Regions from separate parts of the Homo sapiens genome. Here all the other regions are linked to region 1. The links are contacts of gene promoters, found by promoter capture Hi-C in blood cells and fetal thymus (Javierre and others, 2016). All regions are on one chromosome and are shown on one strand. The core of a region is centred on a gene start or on the middle of the fragment in contact, and the rest is flanking DNA. Distances in the headings are between cores, read along the strand shown. Region 1 holds the start of SEC23IP (SEC23 interacting protein). Region 2 overlaps BAG3 (BAG cochaperone 3). Region 3 overlaps INPP5F (inositol polyphosphate-5-phosphatase F).

Evidence for each region. Contacts are between HindIII fragments. The CHiCAGO score rates a contact against its expected background, and 5 or more counts as called.
Region 2: a fragment that was not itself captured here is called in contact with the fragment with the promoter of SEC23IP in region 1 in 1 of 17 cell types (activated CD4 T cells); the score reaches 6.2 in activated CD4 T cells.
Region 3: a contact is called between a fragment that was not itself captured here and the fragment with the promoter of SEC23IP in region 1, in 1 of 17 cell types (neutrophils). The highest score is 5.1, in neutrophils.

What each region holds. Positions count from the first base shown.
Region 1 is chr10:119,889,866-119,894,373 of GRCh38, reverse strand. SEC23IP (SEC23 interacting protein) reads right to left here and starts at 1,644. Exons shown (of 19, transcript NM_007190.4): 1 at 1,429-1,644. The coding sequence starts at 1,591. RefSeq lists enhancers at 1,396-1,906, 1,907-2,417, 2,418-2,929. The HindIII fragment of the contact is 6,362 bases long and covers 1-3,672 here.
Region 2 is chr10:119,653,881-119,658,388 of GRCh38, reverse strand. The region is part of intron 1 of BAG3 (BAG cochaperone 3); the gene reads right to left. Among named protein-coding and RNA genes, the nearest start is that of BAG3, 4.8 kb to the right of the region's middle. The HindIII fragment of the contact is 765 bases long and covers 1,664-2,428 here.
Region 3 is chr10:119,744,809-119,749,316 of GRCh38, reverse strand. All of the region lies in intron 1 of INPP5F (inositol polyphosphate-5-phosphatase F), which reads right to left. Among named protein-coding and RNA genes, the nearest start is that of INPP5F, 21 kb to the right of the region's middle. RefSeq lists a silencer at 966-1,260. The HindIII fragment of the contact is 1,948 bases long and covers 1,027-2,974 here.

The DNA of each region.
Region 1 (4,508 bases), core at 395-2,894:
GTTCCCAGTGTGCCTGTCTTCGCTTCTCCATGAAACTGTCTTTCATCCTTCAAACAAGAATAAATTATTCACTGGAAACTCAGCATCCAAAGAGGATCTATGTACTAGGCCCTAAATAAGATCCTGGAGATAAAAAGGCAATTAGGTCATAGCTGCTGAAGAAGACTGCAGTCCAAATGGAGAGGCAGGTGTGTTTATTTCACAAACATTAAATCACACTGTCTGGCACGCACTATACTTAGCGCTTTGCAAAAATTAAAGCATTTCTAATTACAATTCTGTGAGGCTACACATACATAGAAACTGAAGCACAGAGAGGTAAAGTAAAATGCCTACAGTCACACAGCAAGTTACTGGCAGGGCAAGGACTGGAATACAGACAGTCTGTGCTCTTAAACACTATGCTCTGGGCAATGCTACATAATCATCAAAAAGCAATCTCCCTGGACAATAATACAAATATGAAAAAAGAGCTAGGAGTGCACATAGGAGTGGGGGCCTAAGAGAACAAGAAACAGCTTCTTGGAAGAAGTGATGTATTGTCTTGAAAGATGAGGAATGGGTGGGGGGTTAAACCTGTAATCCCAGCACTTTGGGAGGCCAGGGCAGGCGGATCACTTGAGGTCAGGAGATTGAGACCATCCTGGCCAACATGGTGGAACCCTGTCTCTACTACAAATACAAAAATTAGCCAGGCATGGTGGCAGACGCCTGTAGTCCCAGCTACTCGGGAGGCTGAGGCAGGAGAATCACTTGAACCTGGAAGGTGGAGGCTGCAGTGAGCCGAGATCGCGCCACTGCATTCCAGCCTGGGCGACAGAGCAAGACTCCGTCTCAAAAAAAAAAAAAAAAAAAAAAAGATAAGGAATGCATTGTATATGTCTACTTCACAAATATTACAGGCTTCTAGAAGAGGGGCACAGTCCATCTTATAAGATATCTTACTGTAACCTAGAAGATATTGTACTGTATCACAACAATCTCCTAGTAGGAGACAGTGTACCGTATCCTAGGAGAGGGGCACAGTCCATCCTAGGAGGTATCTTACCGTATCCTAGGAGTCTCCTAGTGGGAGACAGACTACTGTACCCTAGGAGAGGGCCACTGTTTAATTTATTTGCATTTCCTGCCAGCACCTGGCGTACCAACAACGGGTATTCAGCAAAGATTTGCGGAATGCCAGGGTACGAATGAATGTCCAGCACTCTGGACAACTCGGAACAGGGGGTTTCCGTGAAGAGCAAGTCTCATCACCTGCCACCTCCAAGATCCCAAAGCCCCCGACCCACTCAAACCTGGCCAGTAATGATCCTGGCAAGCTATCCAGAGGGTAGCTCGAGGCAGAAGGAAAAACTCCCGTCTGACCTTTGTCATTGCACGTCCCCCGCCCGCCTCCCACCACACACGGGGCCGCCCTCCCCTTATTACCTCCCGGTAAGAGCAGGGAGGCCGGAGAAGCGGAGGCCTGGGTGACTGGGATGAAGGGCACATTGAAGCTGAACTCCGTGGCCGAGGAGGAGAAAAGTAAGTTAGTGCCCGATGAGGAAGTGGAGGCGCCGCCGCTGCCACCGTTAGGTTTTCTCTCGGCCATGGCTGCGGCCCACCGTCCGATACACGTCTCCGGGTACCCGGTACCACACCACTGACCGGAAACCGATCACGCTCCTGGCCAGCGCACTTCCGCACTTGCGCACAGGAGCCGAAATTACGGGTAGCTAGTCAGCCGCCCTCTCCCTTCCCCTACACGGCGACGCCAGATATCAACATGGCGACACTGTCTTCACGCCCGCGTCTAGCACGTGACACCCTCGGAGGCGGAGGCCGGGCGGGAGGATGGGGACGTGGTCCCCGCAGGTTCTGGATAGACGTGCGAATTGAGACGCAATTGACCCTGAAAGTCACAGGTTGTGGCGGGTATCTATGGGCTTCCTAAAGGTACCGTCAGGATGGCTCTCCTGACAAAGATTTTGGAGGAACAGCGGAATCCTGCTGGACGCTACCGGAAGGAGGAAGGGAGGAAGAGCGTTGTGCGGGAATGGGAATTCGCATGCTAGGCGGAACCAAACACCCTCTCCAAAACCCACTTGTCTTTCTGGATGGAACCGAACATTGTGGTTGACCCAGAAATAGAAGTGGTAAAACATTTTTTAAGTGTTTAATCCATAGGGAGAAAAAAATATTTCGTTTTATTTTTGTTGTTTTTTGTTTTGCATTTGTTTTTTGTTTTTTTGGTTGGTTTTGTTTTTTGTTTTGAGACAAGTCTGCTGTGTCGCCCAGGCTGGAGTGCAGCGGTGCAGTCTGGGCTCATTGCAATCTCCGCCTCCCGGGTTCAAGCGATTCTCCTGCCTCAGCCTCCGAGTAGCTGGGACTACAGGCGTCCGCCACCACGCCTGGCTAATTTTTTGTATTTTTAGTAAAGACGAGGTTTCACCGGGTTGGCCAGGATGGTCTCAATCTCCTGACCTCGTGATCTGCCCGCCTTGGCCTCCCAAACTGCTGGGATTATAGGCATGAACCACCACGCCTGGCCAAAAAAAATATTTAAAAGAGAAATCAAACCAGACGCCATGGCGCAGGCCTGCAATCCCAGCACTTTGTGAGGCAGAGCGGGAGGATAGCTTGAGCCCAGAAGGTTGAGACCAACCTGGCCAACATGGTGAAACCCCGTCTCTACTAAAAATACAAAAATTAGCCGGGCTTGGTGGCATAGCACCTATATTGCCAGCTACTCAGGAGGCTGAGGCGGGAATATTGCTTGAGGCCAAATTAACCCTGATCTTGCCACTCACTGTGCAGCGAGACCCTGTCTCCTTAAAAAAAAAAAAAAGAAAAAAAAAGAAACCAGGGCATTGAAATTAGAGATCTGACATTTTAGATAGCTTTCTATATCCACAGTAAGCTGACTTACTTCAATCCAGGAGGTACTGTGGATAACTTGGACATAATTGTCATCTTTCATAGTTAGAGATTTTGAAGGAAAATATAACTTAAGCCATATTTCAGCTTCTTGGAGGTTGGGAGAGGAGATACCAAAAGAACGCTCAAAATAATGAAACTCTGCTCAGCTGTTTACACATATATAGAACCTAAGTTTATTAATTCAATAACGATTTCATGTGCTTACTGTCAAGAAAAATTTTTTAAGTGGGACACTCGTTAAAGCAGTAAATTAGATTTTATTTAATGAAAACTATTGCTAGGGAATTGGGTCCAGCATGAACTGAACACAACTTTGCTGAAACAAAAATTTGGAGGCTTTTTAGAGGCTGTGGTGTGCTAAGGGAAAGGTGCTGAGGAGTGTGAAGGGTTGGTTCGTCCTGCAACTAGGCCATCTGGGTGTGTTAATCCATGCTTATCCAGAGGAGACATAATTTTTCTGTCTTCATGACAAGCAGTGGTGTAAGAGAGCAAGGTAGCCACAGGGACTGGGAATGAGAATGAGAACCACCTCCTTGAAGGCTTGCAATTCAAGAGACAAACCCCCAGGTCCTTGAGAAGACAGTTCTCAGTGGTCATGTGTCCGGAGTTGGTTCCTTCCGGTGGGTTCTTGGCCTCACTGACTTCAAGAATGAAGCCGCGGACCTTTGTGGTGAGTGTTACAGCTCTTCAAGGTGGCACAGACCCAGAGTGAGCAGCAGCAAGATTTATTGTGAAGAGCGAAAGAACAAAGCTTCCGTAGCGTGGAAGGGGACCTGACTGGGTTGCTGCTGCTGGCTCGGGTGGCCAGCTTTTATTTATTTATTTGTCACTGCCCTCATCCTGCTGCTTGGTCCATTTTACAGAGCGCTGATTGGTCCATTGTAAAGAATGCTGATTGGTGCATTTACAATCCTTTAGCTAGACACAGAGTGTTGATTGGTGCATTTTTACAGAGTGCTGATTGGTGCATTTACAATCTTCTAGCTAGACACAGAGCACTGATTGGTGTGTTTTTACAGAGTGCTGATTGGTGCATTTACAGTCCTTCAGCTAGACACAGAGCACTGATTGGTGCATTTACAATCCTCTAGCTAGACAGAAAAGTTCTCCAAGTCCCTACTCAACCCAGGAAGTCTAGCTGGCTTCACCTCTCAATCCCCCCTCTAAAGAGGACACCCCAAGAGCTGTTGGGAATTGGGCAATGACCTCTGTAGCTACTTCCTGCTGGATGGGTTGAAGAAGGAGCCCTGCAGTTGTAGTGTCCTCCAGAGGGGAACTCTTTATGCCAGTCAAAGGGCCAGCGGGTTGGTGCAGGGGTCCTCAGTAGAAGTTGTTAGTTGAGCTCATTGGGGTTCCATTTGTAAGACCATCTGTAGCTTGATGGCCTCAATCCTAGAGGAAACAAATTTGACAAGGAGGTTAAAAATACAGGGCCCGAAGGTGAATAATAGCAAGATGGCCATCACAGGACCTAGAAAGGGGAAATGCCATATCGCCCAACTCCAGAGGTTGATATAAGAGTTTGAAAGGCGTTGTCTGATTTCAGAAGCCTTTTCCTGTAAACACCAGGCGGCACCTCATCCTATCCC
Region 2 (4,508 bases), core at 797-3,296, 240 kb after region 1:
GGGACGCCCGGCATGGAGCGCTGTCAGAACCGGGGAAGACACCGTCCAACCCAGGAAGGAGTGCTAACCCCGCTGGGATGCTGGGGGTCTGAACTGACCCTGAAAGGGTGGGCCAGCGAAGGGGCTGGCTTTTCTTCTGCACATGAAGGGGCCTTCCCATCCTCCCACTGTATGAATTTTTAAACCATCCATTCATTTATTCATTCATTCAATGTCAAGGAAGAATTTTTTAAATAACTGAAAAAAATATATAATTCTACTTTAATAAACACTGAGGAAGATACTTTAAAACAGCAAACGTTTGTTCTCCAATTGAATGCTAAGGAATTTTCCGTAAAAAGTCTCCCCAGTTCACTGGGGCACAGCTCTGTGCTGGGAGCTCTTGGACAGCTGAGCTGTTTACAGGCTCCTGACGCACAGAGCTGGCACTCTGCGATTCTAGGCTTTTCTGAATTGACAGTGAATAAGAACCTTCACGTATACGGTGTCTGATCTTGCTGCCAGCCACACGAAAAAAAATTTTTAAGAGACTCTTTTCACAGTGCCAGGGGCTGCTCTCTGCACAGCTATGGAAGTAGGGTCTGGCTGCTGCCAGCTCCCAGCCTCTCCAGCCCTGCTGTAAGATGCTGTGTCATTGGGAGAAACAAAAAAGAGCTTCTCCAGACCTGTAAGGATGAACTTAGGGAATCAATACTGAAGTCCTTTGTGCAGAGAAGGCCATTCACAAAGTGACAAAAAGGAGCAGGCCTCTGGGGACCTTTAGGAGCCCAGGACAACTCTGCAGTTCTTAGGAACCAATGGAAGGCTTCCCGGGACACACCTGCATCCTTCACGGGCAGCTCTTCTGTATCTGCCTTCGCGCTCTGGGCAGGCCCATGTTCTACCCTTCTCCACAGTCACTCGTTCCATCTTTTCTGAGCCTGTGGACCCTGCCAGGCATCAAGAGGCAGCGATGAAGCACACAGACTCTGCCCCAGAACTCCTAACAGGGGTGTGACCCCAAGACAAAGCAGAAAAGTGCAGAGCTTAAGCAAAAAGATTCAAATTAAAATAATATGGGTTCCAGAAGAGAGACAGCCTGCTTCGGACCAGGGAGAGGCAGGACATGCTTTGTGGAGAACAGTCTCAAAGTGGGCAGACTTGTCCTCTATATGGCATTTAACACTGTGACTCGCACACTGTGGGCACTCAGTGAATTTCAGATGGGGTAAAGGAGTGAGTAAAGAGTCGGGCCCATCTCCTAAATCCAGACCCAGGTTCAAGAAACAGGCCAACATTTCTGATTAACTATACAAAGATGGACTCAGGGCTGTTTATCACCTCAAGCTGTGCCTGGGGAGTATAAAGCAGCCGTGCCTGGGGAGTATAAAGCAGCCAGGCCCGCTAAAGGCAAGTCTGTCTGTCACCCCTTCAGGAACTCAGATGGGGGTAAAGCCACAGAAGTCTTTCTGTTTATCACAGGCCAGGCACACTGCCTCTCCAAATCTGCTGTCCCATGTGTAAGACACTTCATAGTTTCTAGTTCAAAGAGCTGGTGAGGATTTAGAGATAAGGTTACCAAAAGCACCCACTCATATCTGGCACATATATATATATATGTGTGTGTGTTGACAGACAGAAAAATACTACATTCATTCCTCTCCCCCCAAATTCTTCCTAAGCTTTTGCAAGCTGCCTGGCTTCCTAAAAGGCTGCCAAGGTCCCAAAGATACCTTCATCGAAATACGTGACGACTTAGTAACACCAGATACCTCACATGGTATCACATGTGCCACATGATGCATACAGATGAATCCTGCACCTGCAAAACAAGGGGCTCTGGAGCCTGCCTCAGACGGCCGGCTGATGGGCATGGTGGCGCTCACCTATAATCCTAGCTACTTGGGAGGCTGAGGCAGGAGAATCGCTTGAACCCAGGAGACGGAGGTTGCAGTGAGCCAAGATCGCACTACGGCACCCCAGCCTGGGAGACAAAGTGCGACTCCGTCTCAAAAAAAAAAAAAAAAAAAAGAAGGCCAGCTGAGTCTATGCTCTGAGGCAGAAGCAGATCAGAGGTGTCTACTTGACTCACAACAAAAGGGAACCCAGGAGGGGCTGGAGAATAACACGGTCAAGTGTGACACAGGGTTCACTCGTGTTCGCCAGTGCCAGAGGGTCTCAAAGATCCTAATAAGCAAGGCCTTTGTCTTCAGTTTCTTCTGTAAGCTCTCTTAAACATTTAAGAGCAATATTAAAACAGCAAAACTTAAAGGAGAAAGAGTAGGTCTGGATGATGAATGGTTTTCTACTTTGGATGATAAACATCAGAACATCATTTTTAAATGTCAATAGAAAGTAATAAACATGTAGAGTGGTTTATATAAGGTGACTGTGTGTCATTCCAGAAACGAGGACAGCACTAAGCAAGCCTCATGGGTGGTATGAAGCTTTCTGACTCACAAGCAGCCCTGATAGCATCCAACAGTTAAGCCTTCCCAGCCCTGGCCAACGTCAAACGCTGCCGCAGGTCCTGTGTACAGGCTCCACCCTCATAAAGGGCAAATCTACCCTACAAAACGGGACAAATGATGTTCTCGGAGGTGCAGTCGGTTCTCATGTGAACAACACAGGCTGTTCTTCAGAGGGGAAAATGAAAGTCCTGGATGAGCTGGGCTCCAAGGCATCTGGCCATGCTGTTCATCTGCCCCCCAACAAATCACTTTCATGCAGTCGCACAGGAACTTGCTCAGCCACAACTGCAACTTGCTGGAAATACGAAGGAGAGAACGGCCACTCATTTCCTGATTGTGCTCCGCCTCTGCTAAGAGGCATAACAGCTTGCAATAGATCTGGAAAGAGCAAAACGATCTCATCTTTAAGAAAATTCAGGAGGCTCTGCTGAACCTTAAGCAAAATAAATGGGTCTCTCTACTTCAATCATAACTCGAAACATTTCCAGTGTTATCTGAAAGGATGTTTCTATCTCCCTGTCACAGTGCCTGAGTATAATCTGTTAAATGATTATGGTGAGATTCTGCCAGATGGGCAAGACAAAAAGAAAAGGCTCTGGCTTGCTTCTTCCTGGGGTCCAGGAAGATCTCTGGACCACCTCCCCACTCTCGCACTGCCAGCCACCCTGCCAGACTTTGCAAGGTGCTGTCTCGGCTCGCTTCCCATGTCATCCCCATATTCACACCTCCAGAAGCCCGCGTACCTGGGGAGTTTCCCCAAGAAGGAAAATGGAGGCTTGGGAAAATGCTCTGCAGGATAGATGTTCAGGAGGCACTAAGCCGCAGCTCCTCCTCCCCAAAATGGGATCACTGGCCATCCGTGGCTCCCACTGCCAGTGCAGCAGAATCAGAACCACCAAAAAAGCTTTCTGGACTTAATAGTTTTCTGGGCCCTACACTGAGCAATTCAGATTTGAACATGGGGTTGGGGCAGGGAGGCGATGAGACACAGCCACAATCTGTGTTCTTAACAGGACTCCCTGGAGAGTGCCAGACTGGTAACCCCCAAGATCCATGGAGCTAGAGCGGCCCTGCTCCATGAGGGAGGAAGGTCTCCCTCTCATCCCAAGGAGGCCTGGCGGGAACAGCACTCCAGAACATCCGGCCTCTGTTTATTCAGGGAGGAGCCTGGAGGAGTGGCTGCACCAGCACTGAATGCCATCCTCTGCCAGGAAAGGGCCTGGACTGGTATGAACTTGCCAAATTAGTGGGAAGCCCAAGTGTGCAGAAAATCAAAATCCAGGAAGACTGCAGGTGGGGAGGCCCAGCTGCTTAGAATGGGGCTGGATGAAGCCCAGCATCTTTGCCGGGAGCCGTCCTGCTTCAGCAATGACAGAAGATACTTGCTTTCGCTCTGCCCCTCTGTGAAAACAGGGAGTTGTCCTAACTACTTCAGGAGAAGGCGGAAGATCAACTGCAAGACGGCAGTAGAAGACGAAATAAAATACAAAGGTCTAGTCTTTTCTTTCCATTTTCTTACTAACGTGATTAAATTTTAAACATCCTGAAGCTGAGTCCTCCCCCAAAAGAGAGGTCGTCTCTTGAGCTCCTCATGCTCAATGAACAGCTTTTTACTGATTGACAGCATTTCCTCTTGAAGATGATGATGCTCAGACGGGCCTCAGCTCAGCTCCTCCAAAATCGCCCTTTGTTTTCTGCAAGGGCCTTTTTCTCATTATGCATTGAGAAGCCAATTTCAAATACAAAATGATATTCAAGGATTTTCCACTACATTTAGTCTCCAGTAAGGTGTAACTCACACAAGTGCAACCTGATATTGTGTGTGTCAAAGCACAGGATTGAAAGCAATGAAGCACAAACAGCTCATGGGCTGAATGTTAGTTTTCTCCTTAAGTTTTGGTGCCATGCTGACAAGTCTCAAGTCATTCACTTGGTAAAGGGAACTCTTTTCTTGAGTTCATCAGTCCCATCATCAAAATCCAAGCAACCTCAGCACAGAGGTCAGTGACCCAATAACTTGGTGGCCAGGAGGGCACAAAAATAATCAAGTATTCTAGC
Region 3 (4,508 bases), core at 751-3,250, 150 kb after region 1:
CATGGAGCCAGCAGGGCAGAAAACAAGCGGGAGCGCTGCCCCCTACCAAGTTGGCGGGGCTCCTGGCACAGCTGCAGCCAGCAGAGGCTCCAGACCTGGGCATTCCTGTACTCTCAGCTACCCGGGAAGACCCTCTTTCCCCACAGGCTCGGAAGTGCCTGCTCCCACTCCCTGGCCTCTCTCCCTGCTCCCAGCACCTGCTCTGGTGCAGAGCAAGTTGTGGCCGAGCCTGGGGACCGTCACGACCGAGTCGGGTGTGCACAGGCTTGGACACTGCTGTCACACCAGCTCCCTGCCGCCTCAGCCCCCTCTGGACTTCGGGTGCCGATAAGCGTGGGAGAGAGGCCAGCAGGGGTGAGGGCAGCTCCAAGTGGGCCTGCAGGCACCCCTCAGCCCAAACAGCCTGGGCAGTGGAGGGAGACAGACACAGGTTCCTGTCCAGAAAGGGGCAGATCACAGGTAAAACCCCACCTTCAAGCCAGGGACAACCTGAAGCCTGGGGTCTGAGCTGCAGGTTCCGGGTGGAGTCCGTGAGCTGGAGTAAGAACTCAGGGTGCTTTCTCCAGGCCGTCCGTGGCCTCCCATGGACCAATCAGCACACACTTCCTCCATTCTGAGCCCATTAAAAATCCCGGACTCAGCCAGACTCACAGATGTCCAGACCACCAGCTGCGGGAGGGAGCTGCCCCCTTCGGGTCTCCTCATTGGATGACCTGCCTGCAAAAAGGAGCTACCCACTTCAGGTCTCCTGAGAGCTCTTCTGGGGCTCAATGAAGCTGCTCTCTGCCTTGCTCCCCCTCCAGTTGTCCACATACCTTGCATACCTCATTCTTCCTGGACACGGGACCCCTGAATGGTGGGACTGAAAAAGCTGTAACACAAACAGGACCAAAACACGCCCCCTGCTCACCAGGTTGTGGGCAACAAGGAGGAAAGGGCTGCGGCCCTTCGGGAACACCAGACCTAGGGGCTCTCCGAGCCAGGGCTGTGACAGTGGGGCTCTGCAGTTCCTGGCATCTCCAAGCTTCCGGGCATCACTGCATTCCCCAGTACCTGCAGCAGAAACTGCTTGTGGTACACCTGGTCCAGCCACAGCCTTGCACAAAGCCAGTGCCTGTACCGGTGCCTGGAGCTGCCTGCCCTGCCACGGCTGGCACACCTGGCTGTGCATAGTGTCTGGACCGTGCACGCTCGCTCATACACCACTCGCCACTCCGCACCTGGCTTGCCATTGGCAGGCATGGGATCCGGGCTGGTAGTGCAAGCCCAGCACAGCTTGCCGAGCCAAGACAGTGGAAAAAGCCCAGTGGACCCGAGGAAAACTCAGGCAAAATCGCCACTGGCCACAGAAGTGTCCAGGTGGAAAAGCAACACCCTAAGGATCCCATGACATTATAGTTTTTTAAGTAATTTTTTCTAACATTTCTAACATAGTTTTTCTAAAATTTCATGAGTATTTTCTTCTTTAAAATATTCTTCAAGATTATAACTTCATGGTGACACAATTTTCCACTTAAGGAAGTACTTCCTCAAAGAAAACATTTAAGTGATTTGAAGTTTTTCCCCCATCATAAAAAACACTGTGATAAATGATGAATATTATGCAAATATTTGCCTCTCTAATTAATAGCTTTTGGATAGATTCCTGGGAATTAAATTAATAGGTTAAAACCTTAAAAATGTAAACTTCTCAAATAATACCAAATTGTTTGCTACAAAGGTTACATACCAAGTTAGATTTCTGCCAGAAGCATATGAATTTCTTTTTTGAATTAAAAAAAATTTTTTTTTAAAGCAAGGCCAGGCACAGTGGCTCATGCCTGTAACCCCAACACTTTGGGAGGCCAAGCTGGGTGGATTGCTTGAGGCCAGGAGTTCAGCCTGGCCAACATGGTAAAACCCCATCTCTACTAAAAATACACAAAAAATTAGCTGGGCGTGGTGGTGCGTGCCTGTAATCCCAGCTTCTTGGGAGGCTGAGGCATGAGAATTGCTTGAACCAGGAGTGGAGGCTGCAGTGAACTGAGATCATACCACTGCACTCCAGCCTGGGGGACAGAGCAAGATTCTGTCTCAAAAAAAAAAAATTAATAATTTTGAGTTAAAAATTTAGAATTTATCTAATTTTGCTAATTTGATGGCATCTGGCATCTATTGCCTAACATGATGTTTATTTCCTTTCTATTGCTGATAAGATTAAACACTTAATTATAAAATTGGCTGCTTATGGCCGGGCATGGTGGCTCATGCCTATAATCCCAGCACTTCGGAAGGCCGAGGCAGGAGGATCACTTGAGGTCAGGAGTTCGAGACCAGCCTGGCCAACATGGAGAAACCCCATCTCTACTAAAAATACAAAAATTAGCTGAACGTGTTGGCACACGCCTATAATCCCAGCTACTTGGGAGGCTGAGGCACAAGAATCGCTTGAATCCGGGAAGTAGAGGTTGCCGTGAGCTGAGATTACATCACTGCACTCAACTGCAGCCTGGGCGACAGAGCAAGACTCTGTCTCAAAAAAAAAAAAAAAAAATTTGGCTGCTTATATGTCATGTCATCTTCTATGATTTTCTTGTTCATGCCTCCTAATTTTTCTTTATATCTTTCATTGACTTACAAGTTCCTTTCACATTAAGGACTTCAACTCTTTGACATGTTTGCAAATATTTTCAGTTTTTAATTTTTATATCTTTTGGCTTACAAAGCTGTTCCTTAGTATCAGTTACCGTATTTACTGATTTCATCTCTGTTAGTTGTTAACTACTTAACCCTAATGCCAGTGGAATAAAGATACCCTGATTTCTTTCCAAATAGTGAGCCAGAATCCCTGTATCAGGCAGACCATGTCTCAACATCTGCCAACACAGATGCCCCTGCTAAGGAAAGAGCTCCAGCTACCCAGAACCCTACCACCTTGACCTTAGATGAACAGACCACAGTTGTAGGACTCTAACCCTTGGGTACCAAATAAGCTTTAGGAATACAGAAAAGGAAGGAAAAAACAGAGTTAAAGCAGTCACGGAGAGTCATGTAGAAGAAGTGGCGCATCAGGCATAAGGACAGCAGCAAGAAAAATAATACAGCAGACAAAAAAGTACAAGATTTGTTCTGGTATGTGTCCCATCATTGGAGAAACACATATCAAGTACTTGCCAGGAACCAGACACTGTATCACGTTAAGATGATACAAAAATAATGAAGCAAACAGTGTAAATAACAGAAGACCAGTAGGTACACTGGAGATATGAATTGATAATGCTAGAAAAGTAAACTAAGGCCAACTGTGGAAAAACTTGAATAAACAGTAATGAGCCTGGTCGGGCACGGTGGCTCACACATGTAATCCCAGCACTTTGGGAGGCCAAGGCGGGCGGATCACAGGTCAGGAGTTCAAGACCAGGCTGACCAACATGGTGAAACCCCATCTCTACTAAAAATACAAAAACTAGCCGGGCATGGTAGCGCATACCTGTAATCCCAGCTACTCAGGAGGCTAAGGCAGGAGAATCGCTTGAACCCAGGAGGTGGAGGTTGCAGTGAGCCGAGATCACGACACTGCACTCCAGCCTGGCTAACAGAGTGAGGCTTCATCTCAAAAAAAAAAAAAAAAAAAAAAAGGAATGAGCCTGAGCTTCCTGGAGACCATGGCAAGCAGATAATAACATAAGTAAAATAAGATTACGGCCAGGGATTACATCACAAGGTTGATGTAACTAAGGAAACCTTACCCAAAAGTTAAATCGTGTTTTCAGTCGTTCAGAAGGTCCATTGTAAGAGATACTTCTACATCAACACCTAGTGAACTCATAGATGTATGTAAGTACCAGAAACAAAAGTTTCATGAAATAGTATTTGAAAAGAGGTGGAGATTGGGAGTAAGAAACCCACTTGGGTTACTGCAAAAGTCTTGGCTTGAAATGACATGAAAGGTCATGGAAAAAAAGAGATCGAGAAAAAAAAAAGAAAAAATAACAAAAAAAGATTTAAAAACAAAAAACAAAAAAAGAAAAAGAGCTTAGGGAGTGAGCTGGTAGTGGGTGAAGAATCCACAGGAGGAGATGAACATGAAAGTCCTCAAAAGAAGCTATGTGGAGGATAGGGAGAGGGGAAATCAAAGATGACACTCACTGAGACACCTATTCTCTCCTGAATGGGAAAGAACAAGAGGGAGCATGGCAGAAAGGATAGCGTATACAGCAGCTGAAAGGAAGGGCCGATGAGAACCTCCTCATTCAATACCCTTTTCCATCTTTGGCATTGTGAACCATGTAAATGCATCATCCAGTCAAGAAAATAAGATTTCGACTTAAAAAAAAAAAAGAAAAAAAACTATAAAAATGTCTGTGTTGTGGTCTAATGACTAAAAACAATAGTCATTAGTAGTCGAGAATGAAAACCAGTTAAACCCATAAGACTGAGTTCATGATGAGATGATCAAGAAGAAATAACTGGATTTAAGAACGAGAGGAGGGACTAGGCTCAGTGGCTCATGCCTGTAATCCCAGCAT